5 separate regions of the Homo sapiens genome follow, and all the other regions are linked to region 1. Evidence: promoter capture Hi-C in 16 types of primary human blood cells and fetal thymus (Javierre and others, 2016). All regions are on one chromosome and are shown on one strand. Each heading gives the region's core, a stretch centred on a gene start or on the middle of the fragment in contact. The rest is flanking DNA. Distances are from core to core; before and after follow the strand shown.

What was found. Contacts are between HindIII fragments. The CHiCAGO score rates a contact against its expected background, and 5 or more counts as called.
Region 2: a fragment that was not itself captured here is called in contact with the fragment with the promoter of C12orf43 in region 1 in 1 of 17 cell types (erythroblasts); the score reaches 6.0 in erythroblasts.
Region 3: a contact is called between a fragment that was not itself captured here and the fragment with the promoter of C12orf43 in region 1, in 14 of 17 cell types (megakaryocytes, endothelial precursors, erythroblasts and 11 more). The highest score is 20.8, in megakaryocytes.
Region 4: a fragment that was not itself captured here is called in contact with the fragment with the promoter of C12orf43 in region 1 in 4 of 17 cell types (endothelial precursors, erythroblasts, M0 macrophages and 1 more); the score reaches 7.5 in endothelial precursors.
Region 5: a contact is called between a fragment that was not itself captured here and the fragment with the promoter of C12orf43 in region 1, in 1 of 17 cell types (erythroblasts). The highest score is 5.3, in erythroblasts.

The regions. Positions count from the first base shown.
Region 1 is chr12:121,015,188-121,017,767 of GRCh38, forward strand. C12orf43 (chromosome 12 open reading frame 43) reads right to left here and starts at 1,300. Exons shown (of 6, transcript NM_022895.3): 1 at 1,143-1,300. The coding sequence starts at 1,287. It also overlaps a transcript of OASL not described here. RefSeq lists enhancers at 479-994, 966-1,475 and a silencer at 1,203-1,396. The HindIII fragment of the contact is 10,275 bases long and covers 1-2,580 here.
Region 2 is chr12:120,552,290-120,554,869 of GRCh38, forward strand. It overlaps RNF10 (ring finger protein 10), which reads left to right. Exons shown (of 17, transcript NM_014868.5): 3 at 210-409; 4 at 2,429-2,519. Among named protein-coding and RNA genes, the nearest start is that of RNF10, 19 kb to the left of the region's middle. The HindIII fragment of the contact is 5,324 bases long and covers 1-2,580 here.
Region 3 is chr12:120,582,971-120,585,550 of GRCh38, forward strand. No RefSeq gene overlaps it. Among named protein-coding and RNA genes, the nearest start is that of POP5, 2.9 kb to the left of the region's middle. RefSeq lists silencers at 1,495-1,864, 1,895-1,964. The HindIII fragment of the contact is 5,644 bases long and covers 1-2,580 here.
Region 4 is chr12:120,622,721-120,625,300 of GRCh38, forward strand. No RefSeq gene overlaps it. Among named protein-coding and RNA genes, the nearest start is that of CABP1-DT, 17 kb to the right of the region's middle. The HindIII fragment of the contact is 6,113 bases long and covers 1-2,580 here.
Region 5 is chr12:120,694,447-120,697,026 of GRCh38, forward strand. It overlaps MLEC (malectin), which reads left to right. Exons shown (of 5, transcript NM_014730.4): 3 at 378-554; 4 at 649-706; 5 at 1,870-2,580. The coding sequence ends at 2,099. Among named protein-coding and RNA genes, the nearest start is that of MLEC, 8.6 kb to the left of the region's middle. The HindIII fragment of the contact is 819 bases long and covers 874-1,692 here.

The sequences.
Region 1 (2,580 bases), core at 50-2,549:
CCACCGCTAATGAGATGGAAAGGCAGATCTGTAAATAGAACTTGCAGAGAAAACTGTGGTTATGGTACTAGGGGGTGAGAGGGGCAGACTATGGTCTGGAAGCTACCTACAGGAAGTGCAGTATGGCAGGAGGGAAGGAAGGGAGAGGAAGGCAATGGATCACCAAAGGGCTTGTAAGTCCTTTTAAACAAATCCAGCGGTTCTTAACCTTGCTTTGCCATAGCCTTCTCTAACAGCCTGGTGAAGCCCGGTTCTCTTCTCAGAGCAATGTTTTAAATGCATGAAATGCAACATACAGGATTACAAAGAAAACCAATGATACCGAAATTTAATTATCATGATAGTAAACAACCAAACTTGTGATGTATGTGCTTCTTACATCTTAGATATAGAGATGGGTCTAAAAATTAGAGTGGCACATTTTAAATCAGGGATGAGTGTAAATGACTTTTTTCCCCAATATCTTTTTATCAATAAAATGATATATTGATATCTGTATCTGCAAAGATTGTAATGAGATATGAAAATCTGTGACTTCTGTTGGGATAAAGTAACGGCATTGCCAGAACTACTGTGGCTTAGTGCTTGCAAGACGGAAAGAGATGCTAAAATTCAGTCAGAGATGAATAGAAAGCAAAGATGCAACATGTTTTCATTCCAAATTCAAGAACCCTTGGGTTCTATCCATGATTAGGCCCCTTGATGTTGCGGGGCTCTGTATTTATTCCCAGGGCACTAGGGAGTCACGGTCAGAGTGATGTGCTGGGCACTGCTCTTGGCAACAACCTCCAGGGTGGGAGAATGTGTTGGAGGTGGGGAAAGGCTGGGTGCGAGAATACCGGGAGGGGGCTGTTGCAGTTATCTCGAAGAGACGGCAGCCTTCCCAGTGTGGGGCAGTGAGGATAGACCCAAGGAGGCAGAATCAAAAGACATTTGGGTACCTCAGCTTCCCCGACTGGAATAATGAAATACCCTCCCTACTGCACCTGCCCATGCTTTCAATCTGCACTACACCCAGTCCCTGGAGGTCTCTCGGGGAAGGAAGCCGAGTCCCAGTGACTCTCTCCTCACCATCCATCCTCTCAGGCTCCAGGGGAAGATCCCACGCCCCTCAGCCAGTCTCCCCAAACATAGTACCCTACCGGCTCTTGGCTTCCCTGCCACGTGCGGGCGTTGCTCCAAGCCCCAAGCCGGCATTGCCGCCTCGCGGCACCGCTCCAGCTCCTCCGCATCGCTACTGCTGTTACTACTTTCCGAATCGCTCACTGTGCCACTGGGCGCCGCCATCTTGAACCACCGCAAAGGATTGTGGAGAACACCGCCGTTATCAAGCCTCCTTCATGACGTCACGTGAGAGGAGAGGCGCGAGGCATTGTGGGGATTGTAGTTCCAAGACTTGGACCGCCATTGGCCATGAACTGTACTGGGTTGGGGATACCAGGTGGGAATGGGGAGGTGGGCGGTTCTCAAAGGCAAGAGCTAGAAGGGCCTAAGAGATTAACTTCTCCAATCATTTCTTGATGACAGATCTCCAGAGGGGATGGGAATCTCCTAAGGAGTTAATGACAGACCCAGGATTAGTTCCCAGGTTTTGATTCCATGTCATTTATTCTAGTAATTTCCCAGTCCAGCTGGGCCTAAGAAACACCTTAGAGAGCTGGTTAAACTGCAGACTTTTGGGTCTCACAGAAAATACTAACAGAATCAGAATCTCTGATAGGTGGAATCCAGGAATCTGTATTTCCTTTAATAGCCTAGGGCCTTACTACTTAAGAGTGTAGTCCATGAGCCAGCAGCATTGGTAACACCTGGGAGCTCGTTAGAAATGCAGAATCCAGGCTGGGCACGGTGGCTCACGCCTGTAATCCCAACACTTTGGGGGGCTGAGGCAGGCAGATCACAAGGTCAGGAGTTCGAGACCAGCCTGGCCAACATAGTGAAACCCCATCTCTACTAAAAATACAAAAATTAGCTGGGCATGGTGGCACGCACCTGTAGTCCCAGCTACTCAGGAGGCTGAGGCAGGAAAATCACTTGAACCTGGGAGGTGGAGGTTGAGGTGAGCCAAGATCGTGCCACTGCACTCCAGCCTGGGCAACAGACTGAGACTCTGTCTCGAAAAAAAAAAAAGAGAAATGCAGAATCCTGTCCGGGCACGGTGGCTCACATCTGTAATCCCAACACTTTGTGAGGCCGAGGCGGGCAGATCATGAGGTCAGGAGTTCGAGACTAGCCTGACCAACATGGTGAAACCCCATCTCTACTAAAAATACAAAAATTAGCCAGGCAATACTGACTCCCAGGACCCATCCAAGACCAAAAAATTAGAATCTCTGTGGTTAAAATACCTCACAGTGAAGGATGAACAAAATCACTTTACTTTTGTGTGTGGAATGCTGTTTCATGTTTTATCTTTGAAGACAGGTATGTCAAAACTTTACTAAAATAAACTCTCTGGCCTTGAGCTTTTTCTATTTCAAAGAAGAGGAAGGTGACTGATATGGTCTGAATGTGTTCCTCCAAAATTCATATGTTAAAATTGACACCATAAAATAAATAACAGAGAGACTGACTCTCCAA
Region 2 (2,580 bases), core at 40-2,539, 460 kb before region 1:
CTCAGGAGGCTGAGGCAGGAGAGTCACTTGAACCTGGGAGGCAGAGGTTGCAGTGAGCCAAGATCGTGCCATTGCACTCCAGCCTGGATGACAGAGTAAGACTCCGTCTCAAAAAAAAAAGCTGTGTAAAAGGAGGGTTTTTTTTGGGTTTCTGCTATAAATCAGTGTCATCCTAATCTGAAATACTGATTCATTCTCATTCTCTCTAGGTAGCAGAGGCTCAACGGGCAGAGTTTAGCCCTGCCCAGTTCTCTGGTCCTAAGAAGATCAACCTGAACCACTTGTTGAATTTCACTTTTGAACCCCGTGGCCAGACGGGTCACTTTGAAGGCAGTGGACATGGTAGCTGGGGAAAGAGGAACAAGTGGGGACATAAGCCTTTTAACAAGGAACTCTTTTTACAGGCCAAGTGAGTATTGCTACCCCTCAGAGGAAAGGGAAAGTAGGACTCTCCGGATAGCTGTGGTGCCTCTGTGAGAGGCTTTTTTTAAGCTATTGTGGGAAAGAAGCAGAAAGGGAATTGGTCTCGTTCTTTTTCTGTTCACCACTGCCCCGCCCTTCCTTTCTTTTACCCACTTTCCAGGTGGATGTTTTTGGTACTTAATATAATGCTTAAATAACTTAGTATCATGATAAGGTAGAAAACATGTTTGGAATTGGACCTAGATTTGAATCTTGTTTCGGCCTTTGACCTTAAGTAACTTAACAGCTTTGAGATTTAGCCTCTCCTTTATAAGGAAGAGGAAAGGTTTTTTTTTTTTTTTTTTTTTTTTTTTTTTTTTTTTTTTTTTTTTTTTTTTTTTTTTTTTTTTGAGATGTAGTCTCGCTCTGCCACCCAGGCTAGAGTGCGGTGGCGTGATCTCGGCTCACTGCAACCTCTGCCTCCCGGGTTTAAGTGATTTTTTTGCCTCAGCCTCCCGAATAGCTGGGACTACAGGTGCATACCACCACCCCCGTCTAATTTTTTTATTTTTATTTTTGATAGAGACGGGGTTTCACCATATTGGCCAGGCTGGTCTCAAACTCCTGACCTCGTGATCCACCTGCCTCGGCCTCCCAAAGTGCTGGGATTACAAGCATGAGCCACCATGCCCAGCCAGGAAGAGGAATTCTTTTTTTTTTTTTTTTTTTGAGACAAAGTCTTGCTCTGTCACCCAGGCTGGAGTGCAGTGGCACGATCTCAGCTCGCTGCAAGCTCCACCTCCCGGAGCTTCATGCCATTCTCCTGCCTCAGCCTCCCGAGTAGCTGGGACTACAGGCGCCCACCCCCTGGCTAATTTTGTTTTTGTATTTTTAGTAGAGATGGTGTTGCACCGTATTAGCCAGGATGGTCTTGATCTCCTGACTTCATGATCCACCCGCCTCGGCCTCCCAAAGTGCTGGGATTACAGGCGTGAGCCACGGCACCCAACCAGGAAGAGAAAATTTCTTAAGAGACAATTGAATGACAAGTTGAAGTGCTTGGCATACATTTGCTCAAATATGATCCCCTTTTGTTTCCTTTTGTGTGGCCCTAGTCATAATTGAAGATTTGACTTTGGATCTAGACTGAAGTAACCGTTTTGTACTTTATATGAACTGATGAACTGGTTTCAAATACTAATGACAGTCTTCTGTTTTTTTTTTTTTTTTGGTGACAGAGTCTCCCTCTGTCGCCCAGGCTGGAGTGTAGTGGCGTGATCTCGGCTCCCTGCAGCTTCTGCCTCTCAGGTTCAAGTGATTCTCCTGCCTTAGCCTCCTAAGTAGCTGGGACTACAGGCGCGTGTCACCATGCCCGGCTAATTTTTTTTGTATTTTTAGTAGAACGGGGTTTCACCGTGTTAGCCAGGATGGTCTTGATCTCCTGACCTCGTGATTCACCTGCCTCGGCCTCCCAAAGTGCTGGGATTACAGGTGTGAGCCACCATGCCTGGCCTAATTTTTCTATTTTTAGTAGAGATGGGGTTTCACCCTGTTGGCCAGGCTGGTCTCTAACTCCTGACCTCAAGTGATCCACCCACCTTGGCCTCCCCAAGTGCTGGGATTACAAGTGTGAGCCACTGTGCCTGGCCGAGAACAGTCTTTTCAACTGCCTTGAAGACTAGCCATTTTCTGGGGTTCTAAGGGGTGAGAGAGGAAATCTGGCTTACTGCTGTTTGATGGAGTCACGGTCTAGGTTAATTTTAGTTCAAGGGATGCCTTTGGGGAATTTGGCTGGACTTGAAGCAGAAGAAAACAGTTCATGGATTTAGACTTCTGCCTGCTGAGTCTTTGGGTTCTTTCCAGAGCTGGAGCTCAGAACTGAGGCTGAGGTCCTAGTGCAGTGCCTCATGAACCAGGGCTGCTAATGGCCTGCATTTGATTTCTAAGTGAATAGATGACAATTTCTGCTGAGGGTTTATTGGTAGATCCTGACAGTCTAGCTTTTTCCTGTCTTTCCTATTTCTAGCTGCCAATTTGTGGTGTCTGAAGACCAAGACTACACAGCTCATTTTGCTGATCCTGATACATTAGTTAACTGGGACTTTGTGGAACAAGTGGTGAGTAGCTCAGCCAAGCCCATAAGCTATGAATGGGAGCACTAAATAAAGGCACTGTGGT
Region 3 (2,580 bases), core at 31-2,530, 430 kb before region 1:
TTTTTAGTAGGGACAGGGTTTCCCCATGTTGGCCAGGCTGGTCTTGAACTCCTGACCTCAGGTGATCCACCCACCTCGGCCTCCCAAAGTGCTGGGATTACAGGCGTGAGCTACCACGCCTGGCCATTTGGCTATATTTTCATGTCAGCTCTTCAGCGACAATACTGTTTTTTAGCTGTGCAGTATTGCATTGTTTGGACGTACCATTGTGAAGTTGGTCAGTATCCCTTTGGTAGACGTTTACATTATTTCTAGATTTTCTTGTTATACCCAATACTTTGATGCATGGCTTTGTAGCTTAGTCTTTATGCCCATCCCTGATTATTTGTAGAAGTGTCTTGGCCTTGGCTGGTCCTGTGAGGTCCGTAATGGGGGCAGCTTTCACAACCTATTTTTGCAAGATCTGGAATGAGTTCTGAATTTTCCCATCTCCCACTCTTCTTGGCCACCTTAAAGGAGGGATGTGGGGGAAGGTAGGGAAGAAAAGAATAGGAAGAGGGAACGCCGTGGCCCTGCCAAGGGACCAGTGACAGTGACGGCACTCCCCACCCAAGAACAACTTTTCACCAGAAAGTGTCTGCGACATCCTCCTTTGGCCAACAGGGGGCGCCAGAGGTCCGCAGTGCGCGGAGAGAGCAAGACACCCCCAACTCCTGAGCGCTCCACCCCTCATAGAAATTTCACTCCTCCCAGCCTTCATTTCAACAGCAATGCTTCGCCCATTTTATAGATGCAGTTGGGGCTCAGACCAAAGCCTCGTATCCAGTTAGGAGCAGGATCAGAATTCGAACCCAAAGCCAGCTGACTCCTTGTTCTGGTCAACACGGTTGGTGCTCTCCCGTGCAGGATTTCACTCGTCCATTTAGTGTAATAAGATGGAGAGACGACAGATGGAGGTTCGATTCGCTACTCCGTCATTTACTGGCCCGGCCAGGTGCTGTCAGGAGGGTTAATTCATGTCTCAGATCTTAGTTTCCTCATCTGTGCAATGGGATAACAATGGTTCCTCCCTCGTGGGTGGATATGAAGTTTAAGCGGGGTCATGTGGACAAAATGCCTGGCACAGCGAGTGCATAGTAAGCCCTTTTTTTGTTTTTGTTTTTTTTGTTTTGTTTGTTTTTTGAGACTGATTTTTAAGACTGTCTTAAAAACAAGAAAAGAAAAAAGAAAATATAGCCAAACAACAGGAATTTTTTGAGACAGTTTTTTGCTCTGTCGCCCAGGCTGGAGTGCAGTGACGCCATGTCGGCTCACTGCAGCCTCTGCCTCCCGGGTTCAAGCAATTCTCCTGCCTCAGCCTCCAGAGTAGCTGGGATTAAGGCGCCTGCCACGACGCCCGGCTAATTTTGTATTTTTAGTAGAGATTTCACCATGTTGGACAGGCTGGTCTCAAACTCCTGACTTCAAGTGATCCGCCCGCCTCGGCCTCCCAAAGTGTTGGGATTACAGGCGTGTGCCACCGCCCTCGGCAAGTAAACGCTGTTCTGAACAAATGATTTACTTTTCCCCCACAGGCACAGCCCCGGGAGGAAGCACATTGGCACGGCCCGCGGCCTCCCAGTCTTGGACCAGGCCCGGCCCCTTCTGGCCCAGGAGGGTGCAGACGCCGGCGGTGGCCGGGCGGGCGGGCTCCCCGCGGTAATTAGCGCGCGCCGGCTCGGGCTGCGCCAGCCGCTAATTATAAGTCTCCTAATGAGGCCGGCGGCTGTTTGCAATCACCCGGGTCCCCGCTGCGCGGCGCGGGAGGCTGCGGGGGAATCCGCCCGCGGAGGCATGGAGGAGGAGCGGCCGTCTTCCCCGGGGCCCGGAGATCCGCTGGACGGCGACGGGGTGTGCCCCGGCCGTGCCCGCCGCCGGAATGCCGGCCGCGAAGGGGCAGCGGCGGGGGCTCACACCCCAACCCCTCCTCGGTTCTCTCCCCAGCCGGGCCGCAGAGCCATTATCCTCCCCAGGTGAGGAAGCCGATGAGGCTCTGAGAGGTGAGCTCACCCAGGTGCGACATCACAACTCACCCAGGTGCACAATAGAGCCCAATCCACGTCTGTCTGACCCCAGCCTGTGCCCTTAGCCGAGTCAGGTATCCCCTGGATCAATGGGGTGGTCACTGTTGTCATTACTGTTAGCATTATTACAGTCGTCCTGGGACTTCTCAGATTCCTTTTTTTTTTTTTTTTTTTTTTTTTGAGATGGAGTCTCCCTCTGCCGCCTAGGCTGGAGTGCAGTGGCGCGATCTCAGCTCACTGCAACCTCTGCCTCCCGGGTTCAAGCGATTCTTCTGGCTCAGCCTCCCCAGTAGCTGGGACTACGGGCACGTGCCACCTCGCCTGGCTAATTTTTTATATTTTTAGTAGAGACAGGGTTTTACCGTGTTAGCCAGGATGCTCTCCATCTCCTGACCTCGTGATCCACCCACCTTGGCCTCCCAAAGTGCTAGGATTACAGGCGTGAGCCACCGCGACCGGCCTTTTTTTTTTTTTTTTCTGAGACAGGATCTCACTCTGTCCCACAGGCTTGAGGGCAGTAGCTCCATCTTGGCTCACCGCAACCTCTGCCTCCTAGGTTCAAGCGATTCTCCTGCCT
Region 4 (2,580 bases), core at 55-2,554, 390 kb before region 1:
GCACGATCTCGGCTCACTGCAATCCTCACTTCCCAGGTTCAAGCGATTCTCCTGCCTCAGAATCCCAAGAAGTTGGCATTATATGTGTGCGCCACCACACCGGCTACTTTTTGTATTTTTAGTAGAGACAGGGTTTCACCATGTTGGCCAGGCTGGTCTTGAACTCCTGACCTCAGGTGATCCGCCCACCTCGGCCTCCTAAAGTGCTTGGGATAACAGGCGTGAGCCACTGTGCCTGGTCCCTGCCCCTTTCTTCGTCCTATCTTCCTGCTCACCCACTTCACTCCCGCAGTCTCCTTGCTGCCCCTGGGAACGCACTGGGTCCATTCCTGCCTTGTGGCTCTGCTCTGCTTTCTTCTCCTGGGACACTCTTCCCCCAAATACTGGCATGTTTTCGTCCCTCACCCCCTTCAGGTCTTTGCTCAAATGCTAACTTCTCAGGGAGGCCTTCCCTGACCACCCTACTTAAAATCACATCCATGCAATATACACTCCTTATTCCCTTTCCCAGCTTCATTTTTCTCCGTCGCATTTATTGTCATCCAGCATACTATGTATCTTACTAACTCATCTTTTTATTGTCTGGTTCCTTCTACCAGAACGTGAGCTCCAAGACGATAGGAGTTTTTGTCTGTTTTGACTCTGCTCTCTCCATAAGGTCTAGAATAGTGCCTGGTGCATAGCTGGCACTCAAAAAAATAGGTGTTGGCTCCATGAATTCGCTGGGATTTTCACGGCCTTGCTGTGTGGCCCTGGGTAGTGAATCTCACCTCTCTGGGCCTCAGTCTGTTGAACTCACTGGCCTTCCAGTTTAGACATCCTGGGGCTCTGTCCCTTCATCCTGGCACTTAAGGGTTTTTGTTTATTTCTTTTGTTTTGTTTTGTTTTGTTTTGTTTCTCCCCACAATATCTGCTAAAAGGAGAACTGGCCAAGGCCTGGCTTGATATTTTTCTCCTAGGCTAGACTTTGAGCCAGGCACATGCCAGCACTCTTGTATCTGAATAAGGGGCTTTGACAAGATGCATTTGTGTGACCGAGCTTCTAAATGTGTTTGAGAACCTGGGTGAGACGGGACATTCCAGCAAAATGTCAGCATAGGCCCAAATTCTGTCTTTCTGTTTCTTTTTGTTTGCAGTGGAGCAAAAAGTAGAAATCTCCAAGGGCACCGCGGACCCTTCTCTAATGAATCAATGGAAACGCCCACTGATCTGGAGATGTAAGGGACGAGCCTGCTGGCTGTGATTCCCCACACCTGTAACAGGCTGTTTCCACTTCCTCAGGAGCCAGCTGTGAGAAACCCACAGCAGAACTGCCCACCTTCCAACAAGGGAAGCCTGCAGGAGAACTGCAGGCTTCAATGGGGATGCCAAGCCCATTTTTAGATCTCATCTGTTCTTAATGAGAAATGGGTCCAACCTTGCCCAGGTTTCTAGAACAATCCCTGACAGGGCTTTGGAGTTTATTAGCATGTTCACACGCTATCTGGCTTAATTGCCAGATGATCTCTTGTTTTCTCTTCTTTTTATGGTGCACTCCCTGGGACTAGCATAATACCTAGCATCTGGTAGGGATCACTAGATTTTTGTTGGAAGAGTTAGTTTTCATAAGTCATGAAAGACAGGCAATATTGTCATCATTTTTTTTTCTTTTGAGACAGAGTCTCGCTCTGTCGCCAGGCTGCAGTGCAGTAGCGCGATCTTAGCTCACTGCAAGCTCCGCCTCCTGGGTTCAAGCAATTCTCCTGCCTCAGCCTCCCGAGTAGCTGGAGCCACAGGTGCACGCAACCACGCCCAGCTAATTTTTGTATTTTTAGTAGAGACGGGGTTTCACCATGTTAGCCAGGATGGTTTTGATCTCCTGACCTTGTGATCCACCCGCCTTGGCCTCCCAAAGTGCTGGGATTACAGGCATGAGCCACCGTGCCCAGCCCATTTTTTTTTTAAGAGGTGGGGCCTCACTCTGTCGCCCAGGCTGGAGTGCTGTGGTGTGATCATAGCTCACTGCAGCCTTGAATTCCTGGGGTCAAGAGATCTCCCACCTCAGCCTTCCAAGTAGCTGGGACTACAGGCGTGTGCCACAGTGTTTGACTATGTCATCAATTTTTTTTTTGGGACGGAGTCTCGCTCTGTTGCCCAGGCTGGAGTGCAGTGGCGTGATCTTGGCTCACTGCAACCTCCGCCTCCCTGGTTCAAGCGATTCTCCTGCCTCAGCCTCCTGAGTAGCTGGGACTACAGGCCCAGGCCACCACGCCTCGCTAAATTTTTGTATTTTTTAGTAGAGACAGGGTTTCACCGTGTTAGCCAGGATGGTCTCGATCTCCTAACCTCGTGATCCGCCCGCCTCGGCCTCCCAGAGTGCTGGGTTTACAGGCGTGAGCCACCGGGTCGGGCTTACATGATCATTTTACAGATGATGAAACTCAGGCTCAGTAATGATATGACTTGGCCCAAGGTCACACAGCCAGGACATAAATCTATGCAGGCAGCTGGCTTGGGGTTACCAGAAAAGAAGAGAAGGAACTCCGTCCCAGTGGTGGCTACAATTTGGGAAAACAAACTTTACTTATGAATATGGGAGGA
Region 5 (2,580 bases), core at 33-2,532, 320 kb before region 1:
CAATGCCAGAATCCTTGTTTTGCCAACTAACTGATCCTGTTAAGGCCCTCCTGGCTACTTCCCTCCATGGTTTGCCGCACCTTCTTGTTTTTAGCCTTATTTTTCCTCTGTCCCTTCCTGTGAATTTCCTTCTTCCTATGCTAAGCTTTTTGTTTGTATTCTTTGTTCCTTAAAGCCAATATAAGAACTCCTGGGCAGTGAAGGAACACGGCTTTGATTTGACCCGGGTTAAGGATGCTAACCACCCTGGATATCCAGACCCATCATTTCTTAAATTATTTTTGAACTTCAAGCCCAAACACGTGCATGATGTCCAACTGCTTGAAAGGATGTAAAGCTGATGGTTTTGACATTGTTTTCTTTTCTTATCCTGGAAGGTATTTGATGTACGATTGAATGGCCACGTCGTGGTGAAGGACTTGGATATCTTTGATCGTGTTGGGCATAGCACAGCTCACGATGAAATTATACCTATGAGCATCAGAAAGGGGAAGCTGAGTGTCCAGGGGGAGGTGTCCACCTTCACAGGGAAACTCTACATTGAGTTTGTCAAGGTAATTCCCCTATTCTGCCCATTGCTGAAGAGAGTGGGTACAGGGGAAGTTGTTTGCTGCTGTGTGGGGTTGACCACTGTTTCCCTTTTCCTAGGGGTACTATGACAATCCCAAGGTCTGTGCACTCTACATCATGGCTGGGACAGTGGATGGTAGGTTGTGTTCTGACCTGCTTTTTTGACTTGAGTGGAGGGATATGGTTGAGGAAGCCCTTGGGAGGTAATTGAGCTGATGACTATTTTGGAAACACTTAAAGCTAAATTGTAGGGGATTCAGAATCAGTTGGATAAGGATGAAGCATAACATGGTACTAGCCACAAGCTTTGGAGTCAGGTCTATGTATATCTTGTTGCTGCCATTTAATCAGATGTTTGTCTTGGATGGATGCTTTTAATTTCCCTATAAATTGGGATTAATAATGGTACCTATTGGTGTACCCTGACCTTTGTAGTCATTTGGGATCACCTAAAACTTGTCCTTATTCTGTTTGTTTGACATCTCTTTCCTAGGGGAAAAAAAGGTAAAAGGAGGAGTCCTGTAGGCTTTTGGTATGCTCTGAAAGATTCCAGCATTGCTGGACTGCACTGGGACAAAACTTCACTTATTTATGTCTCCTTATCCTTGGGATCAAGTCTTAGAGTATATTTCTTTCTCAGGGTTTAGATTCTCCTGGCTGCCAGCATCTCAGGCTGATTTTTGCAGAGAAAGCTGCGTCTTTGTGACATTTCTCCCCCATTCCACCTCTGTACCTTTCCCCAACTCAATCTTGAATGCACTGAGGATTTCATCCTGTTGTCTTGATGTCCCCCAAATGCTGATATTATGACATCTAGGAGGATGAATGTCTTACCACCAAACAGACCTGTGTTCAAGTCCCTGAGGAGGAGGCAGGACAGAGGGATAGTGTGTGCTGGGAACCCAGAACTCTCTGGGTCAACGTTTCTTCAGTTGTTGTGTGAATCAAAAGGGAATGTGGGCTTGTGGGAGGAGGAGGGATTTGAAAAGGCTAAAGTTTAGGCATTGGATCATTGTCCCTGTCCAGTCTGGTTATCTTGGGGCTCTGTAAAAGTAGAACAGGAAGGTAAGATAGTGAACCTCCCTATGAGCACGGCTTTTTCTACTTTCTAGTTAAATCTAAAGCTTTTGCAGCACTCTGCTGTTCTGTAGACCAGAGGCTATTTCTGCTACTTCTGGTCTTTTCTCTGGACCCGGGTTCAATCACAGCAATCTCTTTATTGTGGCTTATTTGCTGCTTTTAAGGGTCTCTCTTACTTAAATGCTGTGGGTCTTAACAGTGTTTTCTTCCTTGTGTTAGATGTACCAAAGCTTCAGCCTCATCCGGGATTGGAGAAGAAAGAAGAGGAAGAAGAAGAAGAAGAATATGATGAAGGGTCTAATCTCAAAAAACAGACCAATAAGAACCGGGTGCAGTCAGGCCCCCGCACACCCAACCCCTATGCCTCGGACAACAGCAGCCTCATGTTTCCCATCCTGGTGGCCTTCGGAGTCTTCATTCCAACCCTCTTCTGCCTCTGCCGGTTGTGAGAACAAATGACTATCCTGAACAGGGTGGAGGGGTGTGGGAAAGAAACCAGCCATATTGGTTTTGGTTTCTGTATTTTTCACAATGATTAATGAACAAAAACAAAGAGAAAAAAACACACATCAATTAAAGGAGACAAAAAGAGGCAGAGCGAGTAGAGAGCAGCCCTCATTCACCACCTGGTCCCAGACGTGCTTCAGTCCTCGTCCTCTCTTTGTGGCTGGCTCCCAGCCTTCTCTTTCCTCTTGAGGATACTTAGGGTAAACTGGATCCTTCCTGCTCAAGGATCCTCATTTGTATACCTAGTGGAAAGGACTCTGAACTCAGAGGAGTCACTGTTCCTTTTTTTAGGTTAGAAATTAACAGCAGGGAAATGCCATCTTATTACCTGAGACGACCAGCACTGGGAGTTAGGTACGGTCTGAAGTTATGTCTAGATAAGACTTCAGACGTCCTGGGATTGAAAGAATGTGTGTGAAGGGG